Linked DNA regions of Homo sapiens: all the other regions are linked to region 2. The links are contacts of gene promoters, found by promoter capture Hi-C in human tissues and cell types (Jung and others, 2019). All regions are on one chromosome and are shown on one strand. Each heading gives the region's core, a stretch centred on a gene start or on the middle of the fragment in contact. The rest is flanking DNA. Distances are from core to core; before and after follow the strand shown.

Region 1 (4,788 bases), core at 1,856-4,355, 350 kb before region 2:
TTCTCACTAAGGGATAACCCACAATTATGTAAAAAATGTAATTTACATCCTACCAGGGGTCCTCAAAGCCTATCCCCATACCCAGGTCTCCCCATGGCTCCCCATCCCACTAGTAAGGACTCTCCTTTGGCCTTATCAGCCCAAAAGGAACCAGACAAAAAGATAGTCAAGGAACCAAAAGGCACCAATGGACCTTGATTGTGCCCCCTCCAAGCCGTGGGAGGAGGAGACTTTGGCTCAGCACAAGTACATGTCCCCTTTTCCCTCTCAGGCTTAAAACAGATCAAACTGGACCTAGGAAAATTCTCAGATAACCTGATGGATATGTAGACGTCTTACAGGGATTAGGACAATCTTTTGATTTAGCATGGAGAGATATTCTGTTGTTTTTAGGTCAAACATTAACTCCTAACAAAAAAGAGGCCACCTTAGCTGCGGCCCAGGAGTTTGGGGATCTCTGGTACCTAAGCCAGGTAAATGATAAAACGACATCAGAAGAAAGGGAACAATTCACCACAGGCCAATAGGCAGTTCCCAGTGTGGATCCCCACTGGGACCTCGATTCGGAGCATGGAGACTGGAGTCACAGGCGTTTACTGACTTGTATACTAGAGGGATTAAGAAAGACCAGAAAAAAGCCAATGAATTACTCAATTATGTCCACCATAACACAGGGAAAGGAAGAAAACCCTACGGCATTTTTAGAGAGGCTAAGGGAGGCATTAAGAAAACATACCTCTTTGTCACCTGACTCTATTGAAGGCCAGCTAATTTTAAAGGATAAGTTTATCACTCAGTCAGCTGCAGACATTAGAAAAAAACTTCAAAAGTCTGCCCTGGGCTCCGAGCAAAATTTGGAAACTCTATTAAATTTGGCAAATTTGTTGTTTTATAATAGGGATCAGGAGGAGCAGGCTGAACGAGACAGACGAGACAAGAAAAAGGCTGCCACCTTAGTCATGGCTCTCAGGCAGACGAGCTTCAGTGGCTCTGAAAGAAAGAAAGGCTGGGCAGGCAACCCACCTAACCGGGCTTGTTATCAGTGTGGCTTACAGGGTCACTTCAAAAAGGACTGCCCAAACAACAATAAGCCACCCCCTTGTCCATGTCCCTTGTGCCAGGGAGATCCCTGGAAGGCACACTGCCCCTTAGGGTGAAGGTCCTCTGGGCCAGAGGCCACTAACCAGATGGTCCAACAAGACTGAGGGTGCCCAGGGCAGGCACCAGCCCAATGCCATCACCATCACAGAGCCCCAGGTAAGCTTAACCAGTGAGGACCAGGAAACTAACTTCCTCCTGGACAATGGCGTGGCCCTGTCAGTTTTACTCTTCTGTCCCAGACAACTATCCTCCAGGTCTTTCACCATCAAAGGGGTCTTAGGACACTCAGTCACTAGGTATTTCTCCCACCCCCTAAATTGTGACTGGGGAACCTTATTATTCTCACATGCCTTTCTTATTATGCCTGAGAGCCCTACTCCTTTACTAGGGAGAGACATATTAGCTAAAGCAGGGGCCATTATATACTTGAATATAGGAGAAGGAATACCTGTTTGCTGCCCTACTCAAGGAGGGAGTTAATCCTGAAGTCTGGGCAGAGGAAGAGCAAGAGCAGTATGGACAAGCAAAAAATGCTTGTCCAGTTCAAGTTAAATTAAAGGATCCTACTTTCTTTCCTTATCAAAGCAGTACCCCCTCTGACCAGAAGCCCAACAAGGGTTACAAAAGATTGTCAAAGACCTACAAGCACAGAGATTAGTAAAGCCATGCAACAGTCCAGGCAACAGTCCTATTCTAGGCATACAAAAACCCAACAGACAGTGGAGGTTAGTGAAAGACCTCTGAATTATCATTGAGGCAGTTGTTCCCCTGTATCCAGTGCCAGGACCAGCTTGGTCAGGGAGACCCTAACCCAGCAGCACTAGAGGAATTAAAGACACACATACAGAATATAGAGGTGTGAAGTGGGAAATCAGGGGTCTCACAGCCTTCAGAGCTGAGAGCCCTGAACAGAGATTTACCCACGTATTTATTAACAGCAAGCCAGTCATCAGCATTGTTTCTACAGATATTAAATTAACTAAAAGTATCCCTTATGGGAAATGAAGGGATGTGCCAAATTAAAGGAATAGGTTGGGCTAGTTAACTGCAGCAGGAGCATGTCCTTAAGGCACAGATCACTCATGCTATTGTTTGTGGCTTAAGAATGCCTTTAAGTGGTTTTCTGCCCTGGGTGGGCCAGGTATTCCTTGCCCTCATTCCGGTAAACCCACAACCTTCCAGCATGGGCTTTATTGCCATCATGAACATGTCACAGTGCTGCAGATATTTTGTTTATGGCCAGTTTTGGGGCCAGTTTATGACCAGATTTGGAGGGGCTTGTTCCCAACAATCCAGTTGTACCTAATCCTTATACTCTACTCTCCCAGATACCAGAGGAAGCAGAATGGTTTACAGTCCTAGATCTTATGGACGCTTTCTTCTGCATCCCTCTGCATCCTAACTCGCAATTTTTATTTGCCTTTAAAGATCTGTCAAACCCAGCATCTCAGCATACCTCGACTATCCTGCCATTCATTTTCAGGGCTAGGATACTAGGAGGTCTAGGAACTGGCATTGGAGGCATTACCACCTCCACCCAATTCTCTTACTGTTGGGGAAAAGCTGAGTGTTGGGAAAAAAGCTGAGTGTTGGGGAAAAAGCTGAGGCAGGGCTTGCATGTCTGATATAATGTAAAAGAGTCTTAGAACAGGTCCAGGGTCCAGGGTCCAGGGTCTAAAACCCCTTGTGGCCTTTGGAACACCAAGCTCTGTGCCAAAGGGTGAAAGGCTGCCCTGCTGCACCACACTCTAAGCCAAGGGCATAAAACCCCTCATGGCTTGAATGGAATCCAGGGCTCAGGGCATAAAACCCCTTGTGGCCTCTGGAATGTGTCTAGATTTGCTGGCTCCTTGTTTCTAGCCCTCCCAGGCTCATAGATCGATTGTGTCTTAAACTAGAAGAACATGTTCCCCATTATCTCAAGTAGCAGAACATGTTCCATATGCTTCAAAGAAAATGCTAAACTGTCACAGCTGTAGATCACACACTTGATACACTGCTTTCTTTGAACCCCCACATCCTCACCACCTGCTTCTTTGTTTGATCACCAATAAATAGTGCAGGCTTCAAGAGCTCAGGGCCTTCACAGCCTCCATACTAGCATTGACCCCCTGGTCCCACTTCTTGCACTCTTAACTTATCTCATTCCTTTGACTCCGCCGGACTTCGTAGCCCCCACAGCCTGGTGTTGGGTCTGATCACCCCAACATATTACAAATTATCACAAGAGTTAAATGATGACATGGAACGAGTTGCAGATTCACTGGTCACCTTACAAAGCTAGCTTAACTCTTTAGCAGCAGTAGCCCTCCAGAATTGGAAAGCCTTAAATTTATTAACAGCTGAAAGAAGTGGAACCTGTCTTTTTCTAGGAGAAGAGTGTTACTATTTTGTTAATCAATACAGAATTGTCACCAAAAAAGGTTAAGGAGCTTCGAGACCAGATACAGTGCCAGGCACAAGAGCTCCAAGACACAGGACTTTGGAGTATTGTCAACCAATGGATGCCCTGGTTTCTCCCCTTCTTGGGACCCTTGGTGGCTATTGTGATGTTGCTTATCTCTGGACCCTGCATTTTTAACCTCCTTGTAAAATTTGTCTCTTCCAGAATAGAATCCATGAAACTGCAAATGATTCTACAGATGGAGCCCCAAATGACCACCACTAGCACCTGCTATCGAGGACCCCTAGACTGACCCACCAATCTGTTCTTGCACCATGACACTGAAGACTCCCCTCCTGAGGAAGGCTCAACTGCAGAGCCCCTTCTACACCCCAGCTCAGCAGGAAGTAGCTAGAATGATTGTTGCCCAACTTCCCAACGGCACTTGGGCTTTCCTTTTGAGAGGAGGGACTGAGGGACTAAGTGGCTAAGTTGGCTGGACTTCCTGGGTCAATAGGGACTTCCCTAAGGGAACTTTCCCCTAAGCCAAAATGAGTTATAGCTGCAAACTAAGGGATTGAACCTTCAACCAATCATATAGGGAGTTTAAGCTCTAGCTGCAGCCTGATGTTTTTAACCAATCATGCCCACCTACCCACAAGTGGATAGAAAATAAGCTAATTCTATAGGACAGAAAAAGAAAAAGGGGAGGGGTCATAAGGGGATATAAGTATAAGACACCCAAGCCAAAAATGGCAGCCCTTTCAGGTCCCCTTCCACCATGTGGAAACTTTACTTTCACTTTAATAAATCTTGCCACTGCCAAAAAAAAAAAAAAAAAAAAAGATTAAATAGAATTGTCTATAGGATTTCATTAAAATTGGGGTTAACATTAATAGCAGACTTATGCAAGGGTAAAATTTGGCTTTCTCTCTTGAACAGGATTTTTATGTAATAGTAAAGGCTAATCAAAGCATTTTGCTTTTTCAAATTTTTGAGTCATCCTTTTGGCAAAACAAATGACTTATGGTAATCTAAAATTCTATTTCATAATATCAAGAGTTTTAAACCTGTAAGGGCCAGTCATGGTGGCTCACGCCTATAATCCCAGCACTTTGGGAGGCCGAGGCAGGTGGATCACCTGAGGTCGTGAGTTGGAGACCAGCCTGACCAACATGGGGAAACCCTGTCTCTACTAAAAATACAAAATTAGCTGGGCGTGGTGGCGCATGCCTGTAATCCCAGCTACTCAAGAGGCTGAGGCAGGAGAATAGATTGAGCCTGGAAGGCAGAGGGTGCAGTGA
Region 2 (4,526 bases), core at 1,240-3,739:
AAATATAAAAATAAATAAATAAATAAATAAAATTACTCTTCCATCTACATACATATCCCTACTATATATCATTTACCTCACCATTGCTAAATATTTTTAAGGTTAAAAAAAAAAGCTAAAGTATCCTGTGCTAATCTCACAGCATTGCTGAAAACATTTACATGGAGACAATAGATGTGACAGTGTGGTACAGGCACTAGTTGGTATTATGACTCACTCACTCTTTATCCCCAGATTTCTGAAAAGGCTGCTGCTTCCCCCATCTCCAGTTATCTGCCCATTCTAGTCTAGGACCTCATGCCCTCCCCAGCCTTCTCCACCCCATTCCTCTTCTCCAACACAGTTGGACCCACGGATCCTGTTCCTCTGCTGAGGTTTGCTCATCCATGTCTCAGGGTGGGGTGGTCTATCCTGCCTTCCTCTGAATTGAGCTTTCCAGGGATGCCCTTCCCCCTCCACAGAACCTCAAACAGGGCTGCACACACAGAGAAGCTCCACAGGAGATCATGAAGCAGCAAGGCTTGAGTTCTGCATACCTTTCCTCCTCTGGCCTCCCTGTGTCCACTGGGACTCTGGCTGAGCACAGGCAGAGGCATGGGCAGGGGTGAGTGACATTGCTGTGGCAGACACCGTGGAAAGAAGAGGTCAAGAGGGAACTGTGTGAAGCCCTCATTCAGAGAATGGCACAGGAAAATCTCAGGGACTCAGTTACCTATGGTGGTTTTAATTCTAGGACACACCTAATCCCAGTGTCAACTCAGGAGCTAGCCCCTTCTGACTCGGACTGCAAAATCAATTTTCAGCCCTGAAAGAAACTTCCTCAAGTCCGGGCCTCTGGGAAGCCCCTTAGACTGTATGTTTTCAATAAACAAAAACCCTCGGCCATTCTTCTTTTCTCTCCTCGGCTGCTGAGGAGGAATCCTGTATTGTGAGACACTAAGAGAGGGGAGGGAAAGAGGGTTCGCCTAGCCATGAAAGCATCTTCACAGCCTGACTCACAGGTGGGTCACAAGCCTGGCGGGTGATGTAGTATAGAGAATGGAGAAGCACAATCAGAGGGATACCAGGCTTCTGGGGATCCGTCTGCGAGTGAACTGAGGGAAGAGAGTGAGATCCACAGGAGACTAGAAAAGGCGCACTGGCTGGGTGGGAACGAGGCAGCAAAGACAGGAGTGAAAGGAACAATGGGAGGAAGAGAGACATAGAGGGAGTGTGTATATATGTGGATTCAAGATAATGTCTGGGTCTACAACTGTATTTCGAGGCTCCAGATTCACACCTCTTCCTCTCTGCTTCTTTAGTTCCCCAGGTTAGGTGCTTTGCACACATCCCTGCCTCATCCAAGAGCTGTCCTTCATTTCCCCCAAGGACAGGGCTGCTGTCTTCCCCTAGCGACCTTGATGTAGAGGTACACCCTGACGGAGACTGTGAAATGGCCCCACCCCCACCCTCTGTTCCTTCTCTGGGAGTCACCTGGGTGGTGGTCCTGCCCCTGCTTTGCCGCCTCAGTCACTCTGAGTCTCGGCCCCGCCCCGCCGCCCCCGCCTTCAGCACTAGGGACAGCGACCAGAGCTGAGGTCTGGACCCCCCGCCCCCTTCAGCGTCCCTATTTTTCCTGGTAGTCTGTCATGCTGAACTAGGCAGGTGCTAAGGAGCGGGTGTGGGGATGGGAGATGGCGGAGCTCGGCTTCTCCCTCAGACTGGCCCCGATACTTAGAATATAATTTCCTAGATCTCCAGCAAGCAGGACTGGAGGAGGCAGGGGTCCCAAACTCTGGTAGTTCCTTTGGTCCGGATGGGGTCCCGGGTTCCTGAAAGAGGAAATCCAGGTCTCTGGAGATCCCCTGATGTCTGCTTGCCCCTTCTGGTGCCCCCAGCCTGTCCAGGCACGGAGGACCTCCGGCAGGGGATACCCGCCCAGGAATTCCCAGGCTAGACTGGTGCAAGTGACTCTCCCGCCCCACCAAGGGACCCCGGGCTGGAAATGAAGTGACCGTGGAGGGTGGGGCGGGCCGGGTCCCGGTGTCGCTGCCCGCGAGGGTGGGATTGATGTACCCTGCCCTCCCCGCCAAGCCCCCAATACCGGAAGTCGCTGTAGGGGTGGATGATCCAGGCCCCCGCTGACTTCACCCGCTCCTGCTCGATTTCCACTGCTTTGTGGCTGCCGAACACCCGAAGGGAGAACTTGTTGACCGTAGGCTGGAGCAGCGTCCCAAGGTGCCTCCTCTTAGGCTCAGGCCCAGATTTGGGGATCGGACCTGAGGCCGCGGTCGCAGGCGGGGGAGCAACGGGAGGCACCGCCTCCAGTCCAGGGGTCGCCCCTTCGCTGGCCCCCGCCGCCGGCCGCTGCTCTGCCTCCATGGCGCCCACCCCGCTTACACGCTCGGCCTCCTAGAGCCCTCTGTGGCCATCAGGTACCCGCAACCCCTCCAGAGCAGGAGTCGGCGCAGCCCCGCGGGCTCTAGCGGAGGCGTCGTAGGCTCGGAATCGCCGGCGCGCGGGGCGGAGGGGGTGTGTGCTAGACTGGCGGGCGGCGGGCGGGCTGCGCGGCGCCCCCTGGCGAGGGCCGCGCCAAGACCGGGCGGGGCTGGGACGCCGGGATCCTGGAGGAACTCCGAGAGGGGCGTGGCTTAGCAAAGAAGGCGGGGAGCGCAGCCTGAGCCAGGGAGAGGGCGTGGCCTAGCGTTGGCCTTTCATCCACTGAGAACCAGGGAGGAGGAGCCCCCTGCAGTGGCGGGAAAATCGGACGCGGGTTTGTAGCTTGAAGGACTTGGGAGGGAGAGGGATTGGGGACCAATGGAAGAAGTGGAAATGGCTTTTGGGATTCTTCTCCACTCTCGCCCAGGGACTTCTGTCCTGCTCCCGTCTTCTCTCAACACTGTCCTAGGCATATTCTTGTCTTTTGGTCTCCTCCGAACTGCTTCCCCTAGTATTTAATTTCCTAATTCATTCTGTCAGCCTTCACCAAGTGCAACTCTGCCTGTCATTGAGTGGATGCTGAGGAAACAAAAATGAATACAAAAGTCCTAGTCTTAGCATCTCCATGTAGTAATGGAAAACAACACAAAACAAAACAAAAACAAAGGCCTAGCCATAAAGCCACTGCTCATCTGTGCCCAACGACAGACAGGTAAATTGCAGTGCTATGCGAAGTGCTACAAATTCCTAAATATCTCAAATTCTCCCCTTCATCTCCAATTCTTATTACCACTGCCTCATTTCAAGCCCTCAGCATTTTTTCACTTAAATTACTTCGGAAACCTCTAAAAGAGTCTTCAACCTCTTCCAGGCCAATTCTTCTTCCATTCCCTGCCAGTTACCTTCCTAAAATCCAACTATGGCTGTGTCACTTGCTTGAAGCCCATCAAGCTTTCCCATCTTCTACAGGGGTACATTTAAGCTGCTTAGCATGGTGTACCAGGCCCAAAAAATTTGGACCTAGTTTCAACAGTCTCTCTTCTGACAGTCCCTCTCTTGAAAGCCACAGCCCCAATCATGCTGAAAGACTTTGTGCTGCCTTGTCTCTATGCTTTTGCAAATATTTTCTCTGCCTGGTATTCTCCTCCAATTCACTTTCGAACAGTTGGTTCAGATCTTGCTTTCTCTAGGAAACCTAGGAACACATTTCCAACTCTCCTTTCCTCAGGTAGGGTCTATTCTAGAGCTTTTTTACAGCAGCCAGGGCACCACTGTTTTGAGCAACTCATGTCACAGGGCTACCATTATTATTATTATTTTAGAGATGAGGTCACACTATGTTGCCCAGGCTGGTTTTGAACTCAGAGCTCAAGTGATCTTCCTGCCTTGGCTTCCCAAAGTGCTAGGATTACAGGCATGAGCATGGTCTCATTATTTATTTACAGATTTTCTCTCCTGTTAGATTGTGAAACTCTGAGAAACAGGAACCTTGCACCTGGCATAATTCTGGACACATAGTGGACATTCAGTAAATGCTTGTTGAATGAATTAATAATCTAGGAAAATGTTCCAGGAGGTGGAAGTGAAATCTTTACTTCTCTCTCCCCGACTCCTTCATTGATTGCTCTCCATGTTCTATTCCAGGGAACTTCTCTAAACTATGTCTGGTTATCTGATCTAACCTCCATCTGACCATCCTTCATCCAGCTCCTCTCTAATATTTCCTGACTTTATTTATTTACTCATTCTAGAGTCAGGGTCTTGCTCTGTTGCTCAAGCTGGAGTGCAGTGGTGTGATCATGACCCACTGCAGCCTCAAAGCAATCTTCCCACCTCAGTTTCCTGAGTAGCTGGGACTACAGGTGTGAGCCACCTTGCTCAGCTCCCTGACTTTAATATCGTTATTCTCAGATTATATTATTTCTCTTTCAATTGACCTTTCTGACCACTTCTCAATTCCTTCTGTAAAGTCTCTAACTCTTTCTCTTTCTCATTTTCTTTTTTTCTTTTCTTTTCTTTTTTTTTTTTTTTTTTTTTTGAGATAGAGTCTCACTCTGTCGCCCAAGCTGGAGTGCAGTGGCACGATCACGGGTCACTACAGCCTCAAC
Region 3 (4,688 bases), core at 459-2,958, 410 kb before region 2:
TTTGCAACCTCTTCCTCAATCCTCCTGCTTCAGCCTCCCAAGTAGCTCAGACTACAAGCGTGTGCCACACCTGTCTAATTTTTGTGTCTTTTTGTAGAGATGGGGTTTCACCGTGTTGCCTAAGCTGGTCTCGAACTCCTAGGCTCAAGCAATGCGCCCTCCTCCGCCTCCCAAAGTGCTGAGATTACAGGTGTGAGCCACTGCGCCCAGCCTAATGTCTTCTTTCTGTTACAGGATCCAGTAGAAGATTCCACATCTGGAGATCTTTTCCTTTCTTTATATCTATCACCGACATTACCTACTCTTTAAAAATTTTGTAAAAGGCATAAATTTGAAAAATATATCCTCATTAATCTAAATCAAGTCATTGATACAACTATTTAACAAGACGCCCGGCCTGCTTTGTTTTATTAACGACTTGGAGGGACAGAACACTACCCATTACACCCACAAACGTTATCGACATCAACAGAACTGTAAATGACAACACGGCAATACTCTGCACCTTCCCTATGCCTAGGAGCTAATTCCACTTTACATATATTATTATTTCGTGTGTGTGTGTGTGTGTGTGACGGAGTCTCGCTTTGTCGCCAGGCTGGAGTGCAGTGGCGCGATCTCGGCTCACTGCAACTTCCGCCGCCCGGGTTCAAGCAATTCTCCTGCCTCAGCCTCCCGAGTAGCTGGGGCTACAGGCGCCCGCCACCACGGCCGGCTAATATTTGTATTTTTAGTAGAGACGGGGTTTCACCATGTTGGCCAGGATTGTCTCGATCTCTTCACCTTGTCATCCACCTGCCTCGGCCTCCCAAAGTGCTGGGATTACAGGCGTGAGCCACCGCGCCCAGCCCTATCTTATTATTTCACACACCAACCCTGGAGGCATGTTTGGAGTTGCCTAATTTTTATGTACACTTTTTGATAAGGAACTAACAAAAATAACTTGCTGAAGACAAGGGAAACTGAGTCCAGAACTGAATGAGAAGCACATGGTTTCTTCATCCTCCATCACCAGGCTGTCTAACGAGGCTGAAGTACCATCCATGAGTAAGTGCGTCAAGGGCAAACAAACATCATCGCATATGGACAGTGGTGTGAAATTCGAGAAATCCGAGGAGGGTTAACAACAACAAAAAGCACACCACCACGCCGAACTTCCTCGGGTCCCAGGTTGGCAACTCAACGCCCGGGAGGAATCCCCCCCGGAGGCGCGCCGGTCTACCGGCCTCACTCCCTACCTCCTGGAGGTCCGGAGTCCCGCTCCTTTCCCTCAGCGGTACAATACCCGTGTCGGTCCATTCCCTCACCGTGAGTCGAGGACTAGTTCTCCAGACTAGGCGACCGACACACGCTGCCTGGGGCCGGCTCCAAAGCGCCCGTCCTGAGACTGCAAAAAAGGGTCGGGTCATCCGGCAGGAAACGACTCAACGCGCAGCCGCCGCGGCCTCCAACCACCGGCCGGCAGAGGGGCGCTAGGCCGCCCTCGATCCCCTCGCCGCGGTCCCATGGAGGAGGAGGCGAGCCGCAGCGCCGCGGCGACGAACCCAGGGAGGTAGGTTGTCATGGGACTCGGCCGGCCACCCTGGCAATTCCAGTCAAACGGCAAGCCAGACTCGCTTTGCCGGTCCCTTCCTCTCCTGCCCCTGCAGCCGCCAGGAATGGAACAGTCCCGCGGTGGGGACTGTGGGAGGCGCACGCGCGAGGAGTGTAGGGTGGGGGTGCTGGCGGCGGCTGCTTTGGCGGCGGTTGGTGGCCGTGCGGGCGGGGAGGGAGGGGGAGGAGAGAAGAGGAGGTGGAGAAGGCTTGGGCTCGCGCCGCTGAAGGTACGCGTGAGGGCCTGCGCTGGAGCCGGCTTGACAGGGTCTGAGGGGGAGTGGAGAACTGGGCGAGGAGGTTCCCGTGGGTGAGCGCGTACGGGATGGCTGGCTCGCAGGACGGCCGAAGGTGGTGGTTGGTGGGAGCAGCCAGCGACGAGCCCGTAGACACTCGTACGCGTGCGGGCTGACGTGCGCGCTACATGGCCGGAGTCGGGCGAAGCGGGGGACCGTGGGGAAGAACGCGAGGAGGGAGGAGTGGGAGGTTGGGGGTGTCGCTAGGCGCCCTTAGCTCCCTCCCTCTGGAGGAGCTGCCGCGGCCACTCTGCTGCCGCCGCTGCCGCCGCCATTTTGGGTTCGCTTTGCGAGGGGAAACGATCCCAGTGTCGGTTGCGGGATCCGCCTCCTCTCAGTTTGCCCCTTTAGCCCTCCACCTTTCCCTTCTCCTCTCTCGCATTTCCGCCAGTCGGCTTACCCGCTGGCCGCCTCCTGACAAGCGGGAGGGATCCGCGGTGGACCCAGGGAAGCGGAGGAGCCTGGCGGCCACCCCCTCTTCCTCACTTCCCTGTACTCTCATCGCTCTCGGCCTCCGACACGGTGAGTAGAACGATTTGGGCCGGCATTCGGGCCTAAGCACTCTCTCAGCGATTGAATCCTGGGCTTTCTGGGAGCCACTGTCATCTCCCGGACCTGGACCTCTGGGAGAGCAGTGGTGAAGATGGGGGAGGGGAGAGCAGGGAGGGGGATCCTGAGCCTACCGGGAAGTCCCTCCAGGCGGGGTGAAGGGGTGTCCCTGACAGGCAGACTCCCGGAGGGGGCTGGGAAGTAAGCGAGTGGAGGCGGAGTCGGCTGTGCCCCTGACAGGTTAGTTTGTGTTTGTAGGCATGATCGGAGCCTCCCCCATAGTCCAGTTTGTGTGTGTTTAATTAAGGGATAAGAGTGGTCGAGGACACGATCTTGAGAGGGGATTTTACCTGTGTGACAAGGTCTGTGGTGTCCCTGCCGCGTTGAACGGTATGTGGGAACGACAGGATGATCTCAGTGTTGTACGTTTAATAAATGTCACTGGTTAGTTTGTACATGGAAAGAGATGTTTTTGGTCTAGCAGACAGATGGTCTGTTGGTGTGTAGCGGCTGTGTTGGTGTGTGTATGTGAGGATGGCAAGTGTTTCCGTAAGAGTTTGCCTTTATTTGTGTAAGTGTAATGGAGTTCCCCTTATAAGTTAGCTTATTTCTTGAATAAATGTTGGGAGGTTCCTTGCAGGTTGATATGTGTGTGTATTTTAGGGATTGGGAGCCCCTAGTTACTTGTTGGGAAAGAGCGGCAATGGTAGTGTTCTGTACAGCATGTGTCTGTGAGGTCAGGGAGGGGAGAAACTTGGCATAGCCAGTTGTGGTCTTAAGAATAGTTTGTGCCTTTGGTTAGAGTGAGTTGTGTAAATGTGAAGGGCCAAAATATCTTTAACAGAATCATTGCTACAAAGCTGTAAAGAATGGGTGGCCTTATTTGTTGTCGCGGGTTTATAGTAATAGTTTACAATACAATAAGAAAGCTCTTTCAGTTTCTTTGTGATACTGAATCTCTGTGAAAATGGTAGGATGCTTTCTTCCATTTTACAAAATAGGAAATTTAGGCATAAGGAGAGAACTTCTCCAAGGCCGCATGTTAAATTGGTGACAAAGTTGGAACTGTAACTCCCATATTTTCACTACTACTGCAGCAGTATATTCAGCATACCATGGTGCCTCAGGAAGTCTTTGTCGGCAAATCTGAGTATGCTGGAAAGATAGGAGCACATAAGACTGGTTGGCTTGTATTTGGGGGAGACCGATTGTGTCAGATATGTATGTGGAACGTAGCTGTCCTTGCCGAGTCTGACCTGTATGAAATGCATATCCATGGCTATATTATTTTGGATTTATGGAGGAAGCAGAGCATTTCTGACACTTAAGGTTGTATGCGTGAGGGAGAAGGCTTTCACAGCTTAACTTGTACCAGAGCAGCTGCATGGGTGCTGACAGCTTAACTTGAAATCTGTGGGAGGAAGGATCCTTTTTCACTCATTCAACAAATATAACCATTCAATGAATGGTCCATGCCTTGAGGTGAGGATCATCAAGGTGTCTCTGTAAATAGCCTGGATGCAATCTGAGGGGAGTTGTTTTGACGGTGGTAGGTATTAAGTTGAGGGAGGCAGTGTGGAATTAAAACCAGAGAACTGTTTTTGGGTACTGGTAATTGTTAATATATGTGCCTGTGGATGTTGGAACTTCTTGGCTGGGCTGAAGGAATCCTTTGAAAGACTGATTTCGGCAGGGCGCGGTGGCTCACACCTGTAATCCCAGCACTTTGGGAGGCCGAGGTGGGCGGATCACGAGGTCAGGAGATCGAATCACGAGGTCAGGAGATCGAGACTATCCTGGCTAACAGGATGAAACCCCGTCTCTACTAAAAATACAAAAAATTAGCCGGGCGTGGTGGCGGGCGCCTGTAGTCCCAGCTACTCGGGGAGGCTGAGGCAGGAGAATGGCGTGAACCCGGGAGGCAGAGCTTGCAGTGAGCTGAGATTGCGCCACTGCACTCCAGCCTGGGCCACAGAGGAGACTCCATCTCCAAAAAAAAAAAAAAAAAAAAAAAAAAGACTGATTTCATGTAGTAAGGATCCCGTCTATGAACTCTATGAATATGAGGTAAGAATGCATGAACTAAGCCAACTTAGCTGTATTCTTCTGGAAAATGGGATGTTTCTTGATAGGCTAGATTAGTGGTTCTTAAAAGTTTTTTGGGGTCACTTATCCTTCAGAGAATCGGATGAAAGACACTGGGCCCTCAAGTTAGAAGATGAGCATAAGCGCAATCACATGATTTATATA

What was found. The method cuts DNA at HindIII sites, captures the fragments that hold promoters and counts their contacts. A contact is called where the count stands out against the background at its distance.
Region 1: a fragment that was not itself captured here is called in contact with the fragment with the promoter of HCN3 in region 2 in 2 of the 25 tissues and cell types used here (aorta and dorsolateral prefrontal cortex).
Region 3: a contact is called between the fragment with the promoter of YY1AP1 here and the fragment with the promoter of HCN3 in region 2, in 2 of the 25 tissues and cell types used here (adrenal gland and spleen).

Annotation. Positions count from the first base shown.
Region 1 is chr1:155,621,558-155,626,345 of GRCh38, reverse strand. It overlaps the pseudogene LOC100419798. Among named protein-coding and RNA genes, the nearest start is that of MSTO1, 14 kb to the right of the region's middle. The HindIII fragment of the contact is 8,414 bases long and covers 1-4,788 here.
Region 2 is chr1:155,275,426-155,279,951 of GRCh38, reverse strand. It overlaps HCN3 (hyperpolarization activated cyclic nucleotide gated potassium channel 3), which reads right to left and starts at 2,489. Exons shown (of 8, transcript NM_020897.3): 1 at 2,084-2,489. The coding sequence starts at 2,361. The HindIII fragment of the contact is 20,767 bases long and covers 1-4,526 here.
Region 3 is chr1:155,685,794-155,690,481 of GRCh38, reverse strand. YY1AP1 (YY1 associated protein 1) reads left to right here and starts at 1,708. Exons shown (of 11, transcript NM_139119.3): 1 at 1,708-1,823; 2 at 2,281-2,411. It overlaps DAP3 (death associated protein 3), which reads right to left and starts at 1,391. Exons shown (of 13, transcript NM_004632.4): 1 at 1,308-1,391. It also overlaps the pseudogene LOC124904430. RefSeq lists enhancers at 1,243-1,292, 1,668-2,302 and a silencer at 1,783-1,832. The HindIII fragment of the contact is 25,099 bases long and covers 1-4,688 here.